5 separate regions of the Homo sapiens genome follow, and regions 2, 3, 4 and 5 are each linked to region 1. The links are contacts of gene promoters, found by promoter capture Hi-C in human tissues and cell types (Jung and others, 2019). All regions are on one chromosome and are shown on one strand. The core of a region is centred on a gene start or on the middle of the fragment in contact, and the rest is flanking DNA. Distances in the headings are between cores, read along the strand shown.

The links. Contacts are between HindIII fragments. The study calls those that stand out against the background at their distance.
Region 2: a contact is called between a fragment that was not itself captured here and the fragment with the promoter of LAT2 in region 1, in 9 of the 25 tissues and cell types used here (IMR-90 fibroblasts, aorta, bladder and 6 more).
Region 3: a fragment that was not itself captured here is called in contact with the fragment with the promoter of LAT2 in region 1 in 2 of the 25 tissues and cell types used here (mesenchymal stem cells and spleen).
Region 4: a contact is called between a fragment that was not itself captured here and the fragment with the promoter of LAT2 in region 1, in 1 of the 25 tissues and cell types used here (lymphoblastoid cells).
Region 5: a contact is called between a fragment that was not itself captured here and the fragment with the promoter of LAT2 in region 1, in 11 of the 25 tissues and cell types used here (IMR-90 fibroblasts, bladder, dorsolateral prefrontal cortex and 8 more).

Annotation. Positions count from the first base shown.
Region 1 is chr7:74,208,751-74,211,450 of GRCh38, reverse strand. LAT2 (linker for activation of T cells family member 2) reads right to left here and starts at 1,445. Exons shown (of 14, transcript NM_032464.3): 1 at 1,363-1,445. RefSeq lists silencers at 322-411, 1,522-1,571 and enhancers at 512-631, 1,852-1,961. The HindIII fragment of the contact is 33,709 bases long and covers 1-2,700 here.
Region 2 is chr7:74,420,250-74,422,949 of GRCh38, reverse strand. No RefSeq gene overlaps it. Among named protein-coding and RNA genes, the nearest start is that of GTF2IRD1, 32 kb to the left of the region's middle. The HindIII fragment of the contact is 8,329 bases long and covers 1-2,700 here.
Region 3 is chr7:74,039,802-74,042,501 of GRCh38, reverse strand. ELN (elastin) reads right to left here. Exons shown (of 33, transcript NM_000501.4): 5 at 1,251-1,286. Among named protein-coding and RNA genes, the nearest start is that of ELN, 13 kb to the right of the region's middle. The HindIII fragment of the contact is 4,659 bases long and covers 1-2,700 here.
Region 4 is chr7:74,440,406-74,443,105 of GRCh38, reverse strand. No RefSeq gene overlaps it. Among named protein-coding and RNA genes, the nearest start is that of GTF2IRD1, 12 kb to the left of the region's middle. The HindIII fragment of the contact is 3,945 bases long and covers 1-2,700 here.
Region 5 is chr7:74,399,677-74,402,376 of GRCh38, reverse strand. It overlaps CLIP2 (CAP-Gly domain containing linker protein 2), which reads right to left. Exons shown (of 17, transcript NM_003388.5): 15 at 1,822-2,007; 16 at 810-872. Among named protein-coding and RNA genes, the nearest start is that of GTF2IRD1, 53 kb to the left of the region's middle. The HindIII fragment of the contact is 5,500 bases long and covers 1-2,700 here.

The sequences.
Region 1 (2,700 bases), core at 196-2,695:
AAAAAATTAGCCAGGTGTGGTAGCACGTGCCTGTAGTCCCCAGCTACTTGGAAGGGTAAGGCAGGAGAACTGCTTGAACCTGGGAGGTGGAGGTTGCAGTGAGCCGAGATCACGCCACTGCACTCCAGCCTGGACAACAGAGTGAGACTCCGTTTAAAAAAATTCTGTGCTCTCTCTCTGTCTCTGTCTCCCTTTGTGTCTCTGTCTCGCTCTCACTTTCACTCTCCCATCCAGGTTCTGAAAGCAGGTGGGCTGAGGTGGAGGGAGCGGAGGGTGGACCCTCTGAGGCCCCCAGGGGCCGGCAGGGCTGGGCGGGGTGGGGAGTGGGGGCTGCCACAGACCACGGTTCTGCAGAGGCCAAAATAGCACTAAAGGGAAGTGGGCAGTTTTCATATGAACAACGATTGCCAAGAGCTGGCTTCGGGGAAGTTCTCGGGGCTGGGCTGGAGGAGCTACAGTGTCTGAATCCCGCCTGGAAGGACGCTCGAGACCACCCTGCCGGTTCTCCCAGCCTTCTCCGAGCTGAGCTGTGGTTGGGGACACTGGGGTTGGGGAGGGGGCAGCCTGGCTTGAAGCCCTGGATGGCTTTATCCACTGGACTCTGCTCTGGGGTCTGTTGGTTTTTTCATTTAGTTTTTAATTATATTTTTTTATTTTTATTTTTTAAAGAGATGGGAGTCTCACTATGTTGCTCAGGCTGGTCTCCAGCTCCTGACTTCAAATGATCCTCCCGCCTTGGCCTCCCCAAATGCTGGGATTACAGGTTGAGCCACCGTGCCCGGCTGGTCCTGTTGCTTTTTCCAAATAACTCTGGGCTTCAAATGAGCCTAGCTGGGAGGGAGAGAGGGAGGCGGGCGGGTGCAGGAGGGGCCTGAGCAGCCCTGGTCCCAGGGACAGAGTTGAGGGCCAGGTAGGGGGCTGGGCAGGGAGGCAGTGGGGGTTCTTCACCTGACCTGGGGCAAGACCTGGGCCCTGGCCTGTAATCCCACCGTTTTCCCCTGACCTGTGTAGGGGGTTACAGTCCCATTTCACGGATGAGGAAACCGAGGCTCCCAGGCCAGGGCAGCCACTGTTTTGGCTCTCGGCCACTTACTTCACCAGTCTCTGGCAATGATGGGACCACCCTGGGATGTCCCAAGGCTACACAGGCTGGACAGGGGAAGGCGAGGGCAAGAGAGTGGCCAGAAGCCCAGAAACAAACTGACCCCTGAAGTGCCACAGAGCCTGGTGCCAGGGTGAGAGTGGGGCTGCGGGAGGGGGCGCCAGGCATCCAGGCCTCTTCCCACCCCACCCAGTGGGGCCAGGAGCTCCTGGGGGATGGGGGACAGCCTGAGGACTGAGGCACCCCTGGGAAAGGCTTACCTGAGAGTCCAGGGTTCCTCACCACGGCCGCCCCATCCTGAGCCCGCACACCTGCCCAAGCTGATGCCAACACCACTGACACTGGCGGGCGGGCAGGGCGGGCTTCCTGCCAGCCACTGAATCATCCGTACATCCGCCGCACTGCCGGACAGGCTCAGCTATGAAGAGGGCGGTGGGGGGAAGGGAGGGGAGACGGGGGAAGGAGGCGGGAGAGAGAGAGAGAAGAGAAACAAAGTGAGAGGGAGAAAGAGAAGAAAGAGAGATAGGACCGGGCGAGGTGGCTCACACCTGTAATCCAAAAACTTTGGGAGGCCGAGGCGGGTGGATCACGTAAGGTCAAGAGTTTAAGACCAGCCTGGCCAACATGGTGAAACCCCGTCTCTATTAAAAATACAAAATTAGCTGGGCATGGTGGCATGTGTCTGTAATTCCAGCTACTCGGGAGGCTGAGGCAGGAGAATCGTTTGAACCTCAGAAGCAGAGGTTGCAGTGAGCCGAGATCGCACCACTGCACTCCAGCCTGGGTGACAGAGGGAGACTCCGTCTCAAAAAACAGAAAGAAAAAGAGAGAGACACAGCAGAGAGACACAAGAGAACAGGAAAATATGGACACACACTAAACACACACATAAACACAAAAAGTCACACAGAGAGGAAGAGAGATACACTCCAATAGACAGGGAGCAAGATAATGAAACTGAGGTGCTCCTGCAGATGGCAGATATGGAGACACACATACGCTAAAAAGACACACACAGGCAGAAATTCACACCCATGGGCCGGGCGCGGTGGCTCATGCCTGTAATCCCAGCACTTTGGGAGGCCAAGGCAGGCAGGTCATGAAGTCAGGGGTTCAAAACCAGCCTGACCAACATGGTGAAACCCCATATCTACCAAAAATACAAAAATTATCTGGGTGTGGTGGCGGGTGCCTGTAATCCCAGCTACTCGGGAGGCTGAGGCAGGAGAATTGCTTGAACCCAGGAGGTGGAGGTTGCAGTGAGCCAAGATAGCGCCACTGCACTCCAGCCTGGGTGACAGAGCAAGACTTCATCTCAAAAAAAAAAAAAAAAAGAAGAAGACACACACAGGCAGAAATTCATACCCATGGGCCAGGCACGGTGGCTCATGCCTGTAATCCCAACACTTTGGGAGGCTGAAGCAGGAGAATCACCTGAGGTCTGGAGTTCAAGACCAGCCTGGCCAACATGGTGAAACCCCATCTCTACAAAAAATTTAAAAATTAGCTGGGCATGAGATGGACCAAGACACACACAGAGAGACACACAGAAAGATACAGAGAGCCACAGACTGTCAGAGACACACACAGATGGGGAG
Region 2 (2,700 bases), core at 118-2,617, 210 kb before region 1:
GACCCCATATCTACAGGAAGTTAAAAAATTATAAGGCCGGGCGTGGTGGCTCACACCTGTAATGCCAGCACTTTGGGAGGCTGAGGTGGGTGGATCACGAGGTCAAGAGATCAAGACCGTCCTAGCCAACATGGTGAAACCCTGTCTCTACTAAAAATGTGAAAATTAGATGGGCGTGGTGGCGTGCACCTGTAGTCCCAGCTACTCGGGAGGCTGAGGCAGAAGAGTCGCTTGAACCTGAGAGTCGGAGGTCGCAGTGAGCCAAGACTGCGCCACTGCACTCCAGCCTGACAACAGAGCCCACCTTGGCCTGTTATACATATAACTTTTTTTTTCATAGAGACCAGGGTCTTGCTATGTCTCCCAGGCTGGCTTTGAACTCCTGGGCTCAAACAATCCTCCCACCTCAGCCTCCCAAAACACTGGGATTACAGGCATGAGCCACAGCACCTGGCCAAAAAATTTAAAAATTAGCTGTGTGTGGTGGTGTGTGCTTGTAGTCCCAGCTACTCAAGAGGCTGAGGCAGGAGGATCGCTTAAGCCCGGGAGGTCGAGGCTGCAGAGTGATGATTACACCACAGTACTCAAGCCTGGCGACAGAGTGAGAGCCTGTCTCTAAAAAAAAACAAAAACAACAACAACAACACACAAACAGGGGTGGCCACATAGAGTTTTGTGAGGATTGAATGAATGCCTGGAAGATTAAAAAGTAATCACTGAGAAAAAAAAGGACTTTCAGGCTCAGGATATGAAAGAGCCAGGCCAAGCATGGTGGCTCACGGCTGTAATCCCAGCACTTTGGGAGGCCAAGGAGGGCGGATCACTTGAGGTCAGGAGTTGGAGCCCAGCCTGGCCAACATGGTGAAACCCCACCTCTACTAACAATACAAAAATCAGCTGGGCGTGGTGGCGCATGCCTGTATTCTCAGCTATGTGGGAGGCTGAGGCAGGAGAATTGCTTGAACCCAGGAGGCAGAGGTTGCAGTGAGCCAAGATCACTCCACTGCACTCCAGCATGGGCGATGGAGTGAGACTGTGTCTCAAAAAAAAAAAAAAAAAAAAAGCCAGCAAAGATTTAAAATCAAGAGTTTTCTTTATAATCATGAAAAATAGTTCAGATAAAAGAAATTAAAAGACTAGCAGCACCAATAAGATGAATACCTTATAAATGAGAGGGCTAATGTGTATTACAAAGTTAAAATCAGCAAATACAAAATTAAAATGAAAAGCTATGAAGTTGGTCTTAAAAGTTACTCTCCACAAGAGATAAAAGTTAAGAGGTTTAAAATAATGATAAAGTGACAAAATAAATGTGATTTAAGAAGATAGATGATCAATGCCTCAGGTCTGGGATTAAAAGATTAAAAATACAAACATTAAAGACGTAAGTCTGAGAAGATGGAGATGACCACCCAGGAGACAGAGAGACGGTGCAGAGAAGGGGACCGCAGATGAAGAACTGGCATTAGGGAGAAAGAATATCTTGTTTCTTTTCTTTTCTTCTTTTTTCTTTAAGAAGATACTGGGGGTCAGGCAGGGCGTGATGGCTCGTGCCTGTAATCCCAGCACTTTGGGAGGCCGAGACAGGGGGATCACGAGGTCAAGGGATTGAGACCATCTTGGCCAACATGGTGAAACCCTGTCTCTACTAAAAATACAAAAAAATTAGCTGGGTGTGGTGGCGCACACCTGTAGTCCCAGCTACTCAGGAGGCTGAGGCAGGAGAATCAGTTGATCTCAGGAGGCAGAGGTTGCAGTGAGCCGAGGGCCAAGGTCACGCCACTGCACTCCAGCCTGGCGACAGAGCAAGACTCTGTCCAAAAAATCCCCAAAAAGATACAGTGTCTCACTATGTTGCCCAGACTGATCTCCAGCTCCTGGGCTCAAGTGAGCCTCCTGCTTCAGCCTCCCAGAGTGCTAGGATTACAGGCATGAGCCACCGCACCTGGCCCATATTTATTTTCTGAACAAGAGATAAACTTTCAAGTAAAGAGGACTGAAATAAAAGAAAGAAAGAAGGAAGGAAAGAAAGAACAAACGAAAGAAAGAAAGAAAGAAAGAAAGAAAGAAAGAAAGAAAGAAAGAAAGAAAGAAAAACAGCTTTATTTATTTATTTATTATTTATTTATTTGAGACAGGGTCTCGCTCTGTCATCCAGGCTGGAGGGCAGTGGCATGATCATGGCTCACTGCAGCCTCGGCCTCCTGGACTCAGGTGATCCTCCCACGTCAGCCTCCCCAGTAGCTGGGATTACAGACATGTGCCGCCATGCCTGGGGTTTCACCATGTTGCCCAGGCTGGTCTCGAACTCCTAAGCTCAAGCAATCCTCCCGCCTCGACCTCCCAAAGTGCCAGATTACAGGTGTGAGCCACCATGTCCAGTACAGAAAAGTTGTTTTAAAGAAAACAATTCTGGGTGGATCACCTGAGGTTAGGAGTTGAGACCAGCCTAACCAACATGGTGAAACCCTGACTCTACTAAAAATACAAAATTAGCTGGGCGTGGTGGCGCATGCCTGTAATCCCAGCTACTTGGGAGGCTGAGGCAGGAGAATCGCTTGAACACGGGAAGCAGAGGTTGCAGTGAACAGAGATTGCGCCACTGCACTCCAGCTTGGGTGACAGAGCGGGACTCCACTTCAAAATAAAGAAGGAAAAAGAAAGAAAGAAAAAGAGATAAAGGAAGGGAGGAAAGAGAAA
Region 3 (2,700 bases), core at 181-2,680, 170 kb after region 1:
CTCTCTGCCAGACATCAATGCCTGCAGGACATCCATGTGAGCACTGCTCACCGGTAATGGATTTTTTTTTTTTTGACACAAGGTCTCACTCTGTCACCCAGGCTGGAGTGCAGTGGTGCGATCTTGGCTCACTGCAGCCTCAACCACCCAGGCTCAAGCAATCCTCCCGCCTCAGCCTTCCAAGTAGGTGGAACTACAGGTGCATGCCACTGTGCCCGGCAAATTTTTTTTTTTTTGTATTTTTTGTAGTGACAAGATTTTACCATGTTGCCCAGGCTGGTCTCGAACTCCTGGGCTCAAGCCATCTGCCCGTCTCAGCCTCCCAAAGTGCTAGGATTACAGGCGTGAGCCACCGCGCCTAAGTACCAGAACTAGATTGTGTGCCGAGGTTAATGTGTTAGACAGCTCTGACAAAACTGCATGGCTCTTTTTTTTTTTTTCCCTTTAGAGATGGGGTCTTGTGGCTGGGCACGGTGGCTTGAGCCTGTCATCCCAGCACTTTGGGAGGCCGAGGTGAGTGGATCACTTGAGGCCAGGAGTTCGAGACCAGCCTGGCCAACATGGTGAAACCCCGTCTCTACTAAGAATACAAAAATTAGCCGAGCGTGGTGGTGCACACTGGTAATTCCAGCTATTTGGGAGGCTGAGACACAAGAATCACTTGAACCGGGGAGGTGGAGGTTGTGGTGAGCTGAGATCAACTGCACCAGGTGCGGGGAGCTGAGACTGAGCCACTGCACTCCAGCCTGGGTGACAGAGTGGGACTCTGTCTCAACAACAACAAGAACAACAAAAGAGATGAGGTCTTTCTCTGTCGCCCAGGCTGGAGTGCAGTGACATGATCATAGCTCTCTGAAGCCTCAGCCTCCTGGGCTCAAGGGATCCTCTCACTTCAGCCTTCCTGAAAACTGCATGGATCTTTTGGGGTCAAATTTCCCCACCCACCTCCTCTAGAATGCCTTCCTGAACCCCTGCTGAGTTAAGCGACTCCCTTGGGCTTCCTTGGTCCATGGGGCTTCCTCCATGCAGCCTTCACTACTATGTTATAAAGGAACCCAGGTACTCAGCTGTGATTTCCTCATGTCCTGGGCAGCTGCTTGGGGCAGTTGGTATCAGCATCAGTCCCCGTCAGTGCCCAGGACGGAACCTGGCCTGCACCCTTGTTCCATGACCGTGCTGCATACCAGCCCTGGGTTGAGCTCAGGGGCTGGTCCCCACAGGGGATATCTTTCTTGGGTGTCAGCACTCACCTGCCCCAAGGCCAGCACCCGCAAGCCCTCCGGGAACTGTGGATAAGAAACAGAGACAGGAGTGTAGGCAGTGTTCCTAGGCCCAGAGTGGGAAATGTCTCCTGGAGTTAGGGCAGTGCTGTGATCAGCCACTCAGGTCCCTAGGCTGGTCCCTAAGCCTGTGATGCTCAGGGTCGATCCTGATAAAATAGCATCCACCAGTAGTTTAGTGAGCGACTACTATGTGCAGTGCAGGTGTCATTGCACCGATCCCTAACAAGCCTGGGCCAGGCCTGTGCTTCTCCTAGAAGCCCTGCTGGCTAACAAGATTCAGCAGGGCTTTCAGCAAGGGCTGGGACAGAGCAGAGTCCGTGAGCGAGACCTCACCCCAGGCCAGTGAGGTCTCTCTTCTGCTTCCTTGCAGATATCTCTTGACTCAGTCCCCTCCCCTTCACCTGCATCGGGGAACTCCTGTGTCCCCACTACCCATCTGTCCTTCCATCCAGCCTGCCCTGCAGCCCAGGAGCCTCCTACTAAGATGTTTATGAGACGCCAAATGGGTCCCTCTGGCTCTCTCCTCCCCACATCTGGGCCCAATCGCTTCGTCTCCCACTGCGGGAGACATTCCACTGCCTTGGCCAGGACCAATGGGCCATCAGGTCAGAGTTCACAACCATGCCAGGTTTGTTTCTAATTATGTGACGATCTCTCCTACAAGTGCTAGTCCTGAGCCTCAGGGGTGAGTCCTCTCCAGGGATGGATCCCAAACATGGAGCCTGCTGTACCCTGGAGAGGTCCCCCCTGGCTTTCCCTGGGTGTGGTCTCCGTTACTAACCACTCCTCGTCCCTCATTTCCTACTAGTGGGAGCTGGACCCCTCTGAAACTCAGCCAGCCTCATGTAAGAAGCATCTTTGCCTCCGGGCGGGAGTGCCTGGCGATCAGGCAGGAGTCACTTCCCAGCACCCGGGCCAGACCCACCTGCGCTGGCAGTCGCTTCTCTCAAGCCAGGCATGTTTCCTGAGCTCTGAGAGGGCAAGGGACATGCTCAGACCTTTCCTGTCCACAGAGGGGCTGGGAGGGGAAGCTGAGGACTGCACAGGAAGTGAGAAGAGGCTGGGGCTGCAGTGGGGGGCAGGCAGCTTCTCTGGGGCCATCTTCCTTTTTCCCATGATCCCAGCCTGAGCATCCTGTCATGTGGCCTGACCACTTCTGTCTCTGCCTGCCCTCCTTCCTTTGCACTCACCTGCCCCAAATGCCCCAAGGATTCTAGCATCTGGAAAGGAGGAGAAAGCGGGGAGGGGCTGACCACAGCTGGGAGTCCAGGGACCTGGCCAGCTCCATCCTCCTTCTTTCTAGAGTCAGAGAGTTCTAGATTCAGACCCTGCTGCTGCTACCCAGCCTCCATGAGCACAAGCAGGTCAATTTGCCTCTCCGATGAGGCTTAGTTTTTGCCATCTACAAAATGGCCAT
Region 4 (2,700 bases), core at 168-2,667, 230 kb before region 1:
AGGCACGGTGGCACATGCCTATAGTCTCAGCTACTGGGGAAGCTGAGGCAGAAGAATCACTTTAACCCGGGAAGTGGAGATTGCAGTGAGCCCAGATAGCGCCACTGCACTCCAGCCTGGGCGACAGCGTGAGACTATCTCAAAAAAAATAAATAAATAAAATAAAGTAATTTAAAAAAGAAATTTTTTTATTTTTTTTATTTTTTTTTAGAGATGAGGTCTTGCTTTATTGCCCAGGCTGGTCTCAAACTCTTGGGCTCAAGCAATCCTCGCAATCACAGCTCACAGCAGCCTCAACCTTCCAGGCTAAAGCCATCCTCCCACCCCAGTCCCCTGAGCAGCTGAGACCACATGCATGCCATCACGCCCAGCTAATTTTTGTATTTTTTGTAGTGATGGGGTCTCGCTATGTTGCCCAAGTTGGTCTTGACCTCCTGGCCTCAAGCAATCCTCCTGCCTTGGCCTCCCAAAGTGCTGGGATTACAGGCGTGAGCCACAGTGCCCAGCCAGCCCAGGCTGGTCTTGACCTCCTAGACTCAAGTGATCCTCCCTCCTTGGCCTCCCAAAGTCCTGGGATTGCAGGCATGAGCCAACCGTGCTTGGCCAGACACCCTTGTTTTTTTTTTTTGTTTGTTTTTTTTTTTTTTTTTTTTTTTGAGACAGAGTCTCACTCTGTTGCCCAGGCTGGAGTGCAGTGGCACGATCTCGACTCTCTGCAACCTTTGCCTCCTGGGTTCAAGCGATTCTCCTGCCTCAGCCTCCAGAGTAGCTGGGACTACAGGCACACACCACCATGCCCTGCTAATTTTTGTATTTTTAGTAAAGACAGGGTTTCACCATATTGGCCAGGCTGGTCTCCAACTCCTGACCTCAAATGATCCACCCGCCTCGACCTCCCAAAGTGCTGGGATTACAGGCATGAGCCACTGCACCTGGCTACTCCCCTGTTTTATAGCTGGGGACACTGAGTCTTAGAGAGACTCGCCGAGACTCACAGAGCAGCAAGTGGTGGGGCAGGAATCTGTCCAGGGCCCGTCTGTGGCAACTTCCCAGCCTTCCTGGGACAGGATGGAGCCCGACGGGGCCCCCAGTCCCTGACATGCTGCATTATTCATAAACCCGACATTCCCCCAGGGGTAAACATTCAGAAGGAGCGTTTCAAATCCACTTTCCTGCTCTGAAAATAAATAAATGAGCAGAGAATGCAGGCTCACATGGAGGCGGTGGGGCCATGACTTCTCAGAGCCCCGGGAAAGCTCGCAGATGACCTGTTTCTGATCCCTCAGCTGAGGCCCCCAGCCCAGGGACAGCCTACCCCCTACCCTCCCAGGTGACCCTGGCCCTGAGGACTTAGCCCAACCTGGGGATCCTCCAGGAACTAGGAAGCTGGTCAGGACTACAGGGACCACCTCAGCTCCTCGCAGGGGTGGACAGACACTTAAGTGGTGTTTGTGTGGCTTAAAATGTTTTTTAGAGACAGAATCTCACTCCGTCACCCCAGCTGAAATGCAGTGGCGAAATCATAGATCACTGCAGCCTCAAACTCCTGGGCTCAAGTGATCTTCCCGCCTCAGCCTCCTGAGTAGCTTGTACTACAGGCATGCATCCCCACGCCTGGCTAATTTACAAATTTTTTTAGGGACAGGGTCTGGCTATGTTGCCCAGGCTGGTCTTGAAGTCCTGGCCTCAAGTGATCCTCTTGTCTCAGCCTCCCAAAGTGTTGAGATTACAGGCATGAGCCACTGCTTCCAATCCAAAAAATAAAATTTTTTGAGATAGGGTCTCAATTCGGGTACCTAGTGGAGTGTAGTGGTGCGATCACAGCTCACTGCAGCCTCAAACTCTCAGGCTTAAGCCATCCTCCCACCCCAATCTCCTGAGCAGCCAGGACCATATGCACACCACCATGACCAGCTTTTTGTATTTTTTGCAGAGATGGGGGTCTCACCATGTTGCCCAGGCTGGTCTTGAACTCCTGGCCTCAAGCAATCCTCCTGCCTTGGCCTCCCAAAATGCTGGGATTGCGGGCATAAGCCACCATGCCTGGTCAAAACAAAATTTTTTTTAAAGAGGCACAAGGCTCCCGTCTCTATGATCTGGAAGTTGTCCCCATAGCCCCGCTGTCCCTGAGCTGCCTGCCTCTCTCCACCAGCCCCTTGAGAGGTGCATGTGACAGAGAAGGCCTCTGCAGTGACATAACTAGAGTGTAGAAGGGGACTCCTGAGAAAAGGAAAAAGGAAAGTTTTGGGGGAGGGACCTTGGGAATGCCCAGGCAGTCATGGGACCAGAGGGTGCATCAAAGATGAAAGTGTTAATTTAGGCCAAGCGCGGTGGCTCATGCCTGTAATCCCAGCACTTTGGGAGGCCAAGGTGGGCAGATCACCTGAGGTCAGGAGCACGACCTGGCCCCTGCCCCAGACCCCTGTATCTTAAGTGGCCCAGGGGGAAAGCATTCCAGGAACCTGAGAGGACAGACATAGCGGATGTCTAGATCTCAGCCTGGGGACCTGCTGAGCCAGGGCTTAGGGGTTAGGCAGACTGTGCTCCAGGGTCAAACTGGAAGCTCAAGTGCAGATACACTCAGCTCACCAAGTCTCAGTGGAGTGGACCTGCCCCCACTGGTCAGCTCATCAGGCTTAGCACCCCACTACAGTATCTGCCTAGAGCAGGGCCTCTTTTCTCTCCTTCCTTCCTTCCTTC
Region 5 (2,700 bases), core at 81-2,580, 190 kb before region 1:
CCCAGCTAATTTTGTATTTTTTTTTTTTTTTGGTTTTTTTTTTTTTTGAGATGGAGTCTCGCTCTGTCGCCCAGGCTGGAGTCCAGTGGCGCGATCTCGGCTCATTGCAAGCTCCGCCTTCCGGGTTCATGCCATTATCCTGCCTCAGCCTCCAGAGTAGCTGGAACTACAGGTGCCCGCCACCACGCCCAGCTAATTTTTTTTTGTATTTTTAGTAGAGATGGGGTTTCACCGTGGTAGCCAGGATGGTCTTGATCTCCTGACCTTGTGATCCGCCCGCCAGATGGAGTTTCACCATATTGGCCAGGCTGGTCTCAAATTCCTGACCTCAAGTGACCCACCGGCCTCGGCCTCCCAAAGTGTTGGGATTACAGACATGAGCCACTGTGCCCAGCCTTTTTAAAATTTTTTTTTTTTAATAGAGAGAGGGTCTCGCTATATTGTCCACCCTACCCGGCTAATTTTGTATTTTCAGTAGAGACGGAGTTTTACCATATTGGCCAGGCTGGTCTCAAACTCCTGGGCTCAAATGATCCTCCTGCCTTGGCCTCCCAAAGTGCTGGGGTTACAGGCGTGGGCCACTGCGCCCAACCTATAACTTTTTTAAGAAGGGAAGAAAACACAAATCAAAAAGAGCAGGGTGAATCTGGAATCAAGTTTGCCTGCAACAGCACCCTCCCTGAGGGACCCTACTGTAAAGCTTCTTGCAGAATGCATCTTTGTGTGTATTCTTAGTGACGTTTCAAGGATTTTCTCCAGAGAGGTCTGCCTGCACGGGAGGGACCTGGGAGGCCCGAGGCGCCCCTCACCTCTTGTTTCTGAGCTTTGTCCTGCTGGTGGATGCCGTTTGCAGAACCGGAATTGCCGATGGTCTGGAAGAGTTAGGGGAGACACTGAGCCAGGTGCACCAGGCAGCAGTTCCCGATTTTCCCACTAGATGGCGAGGTCTTCCCATGGGACCGTCTCAGGCTCCAAATTCCAACCCCTTCAGCCTGGGGCTCCCAGCACCCCCAAAGACCAAGCCTCTAGGGGTAAGGCTGCATCTTCCTTCTTAGTCTAAGCTCCTCAGGGCAAAGCCATGTGCCCCTTGAACTGGGGGTTCCAGAGGGCAGGGCTCCCTCCCCTTTCAGCTGGGTTCCCAGGACAGAGCTGCCTCCCGCTTTAGATCAGGGTTCCTGGGCCAGGGCTGCCTCCCATTTCTGATGGAGGTTCCTGGGACAGCGCCACCTCCCCCTTCAGACCAGGGTTCCCGGGACAGAGCTGCCTCCCCCTTCAGACCAGGGTTCCGGGACAGAGCTGCCTCCCTCTTCAGATCAAGGTTCCCGGGACAGAGATGCCTTCCCTTTCAGACTAGGGTTCCCAGGACAGAGCTGCCTCTCCCTTCAGATCAAGGTTCCTAGGACAGAAATGCCTCCCCCTTCAGACTAGGGTTCCCGGGACAGAGCTACCTCCCCCTTCAGACCGGGGGCTTCTGGGACAGAGCTGCCTCCCCCTTCACATCAGGGTTCCTGGGACAGAGCTGCCTCCCCCTTCAGACCAGGGGTTCCCGGGACAGAGCTACCTCCCCATTCAGACCCGGGTTCCTGAGACAGGGCTGCCTCCCCCTTCAGACTGGGGTTCCCAGGACAGAGCTGCCTCCTTCTTCAAACCAGGGTTTCTGGGACAGGGCTACCTCCCCCTTCAGACCAGGTTCCTGGGACGAGCTCCCTACCTCCTCAGACTGGGGTTTTAAAGACAAGGCTGCCTCCCGCATCAGACGGGGGCTCCGAGGACACTGCCCCGTGGCTTGCCTCCTGGTGGGCCCTGTCAGCCGCGGCTCACCTGGGCCTTGTCAGGGCAGCTCCTCATGGCCTCCATCAGCTTCTCCACCTGCTGAGCCTGGTCCAGCGCATCCCGCAGGGCGTCCTCCGTGCTCATCAGCTGGTGCTGCAGCCGCAGAAGCTCGGGCGCCGAGGACCGGTCGATGAGGGAGTAGCGCCTCTGATCCGACAGGGATTTCTCTTTGTCCTGGAAGTGGCAGGAGAGTGGAAGAGTACATGAGTGTGCGTGTGTGTGTTGGTGGGCGTCTCAACTCTAGGCAGGAAAGTCTTCCAGCCTCACTTTGTCTCTGGGTTCCAAGCCTGGGCATCACCCAGAGGTCCCTCAGGCCTCTGTGAGGTGCTCCATGGTCTCCAAGTGGGGAACCCAGGACCCCATCCCTCTTGACTTTTTTTTTTTTTTTTTTTTTGAGACAGAGTCTCGCTCTATCACCTAGGCTGGAGTGCAGTGGCGCGATCTTGGGTCTCTGCAAGCTCCGCCTCCCGGGTTCATGCCATTCTCCTGCCTCAGCCTCCTGAGTAGCTGGGAGGGGCCCACCACCACGCCCCGCTAATTTTTTCCTATTTTTAGTAGAGACGTGGTTTCACCGTGTTAGCCAGGATGGTCTCAATCTCCTGACCTCGTGATCCACCCGCCTCGGCTTCCCAAAGTGCTGGGATTACAGGCATGAGCCACTGCGCCCAGCCTTGCCTTTAAAAATAATTAAAAAAAGAGACAGAGACCGAGCCTGGTGGCTCACGCCTGTAATCCCAGCACTTTGGGAGGCCGAGGCAGGCAGATCACCTGAGGTCAGGAGTTCGAGACCAGCCTGGTCAACATGGTAAAACCCCATTTCTACTAAAAGTACAAAAATTAGCAGGGTGTGGTGGCTCACATCTGTAG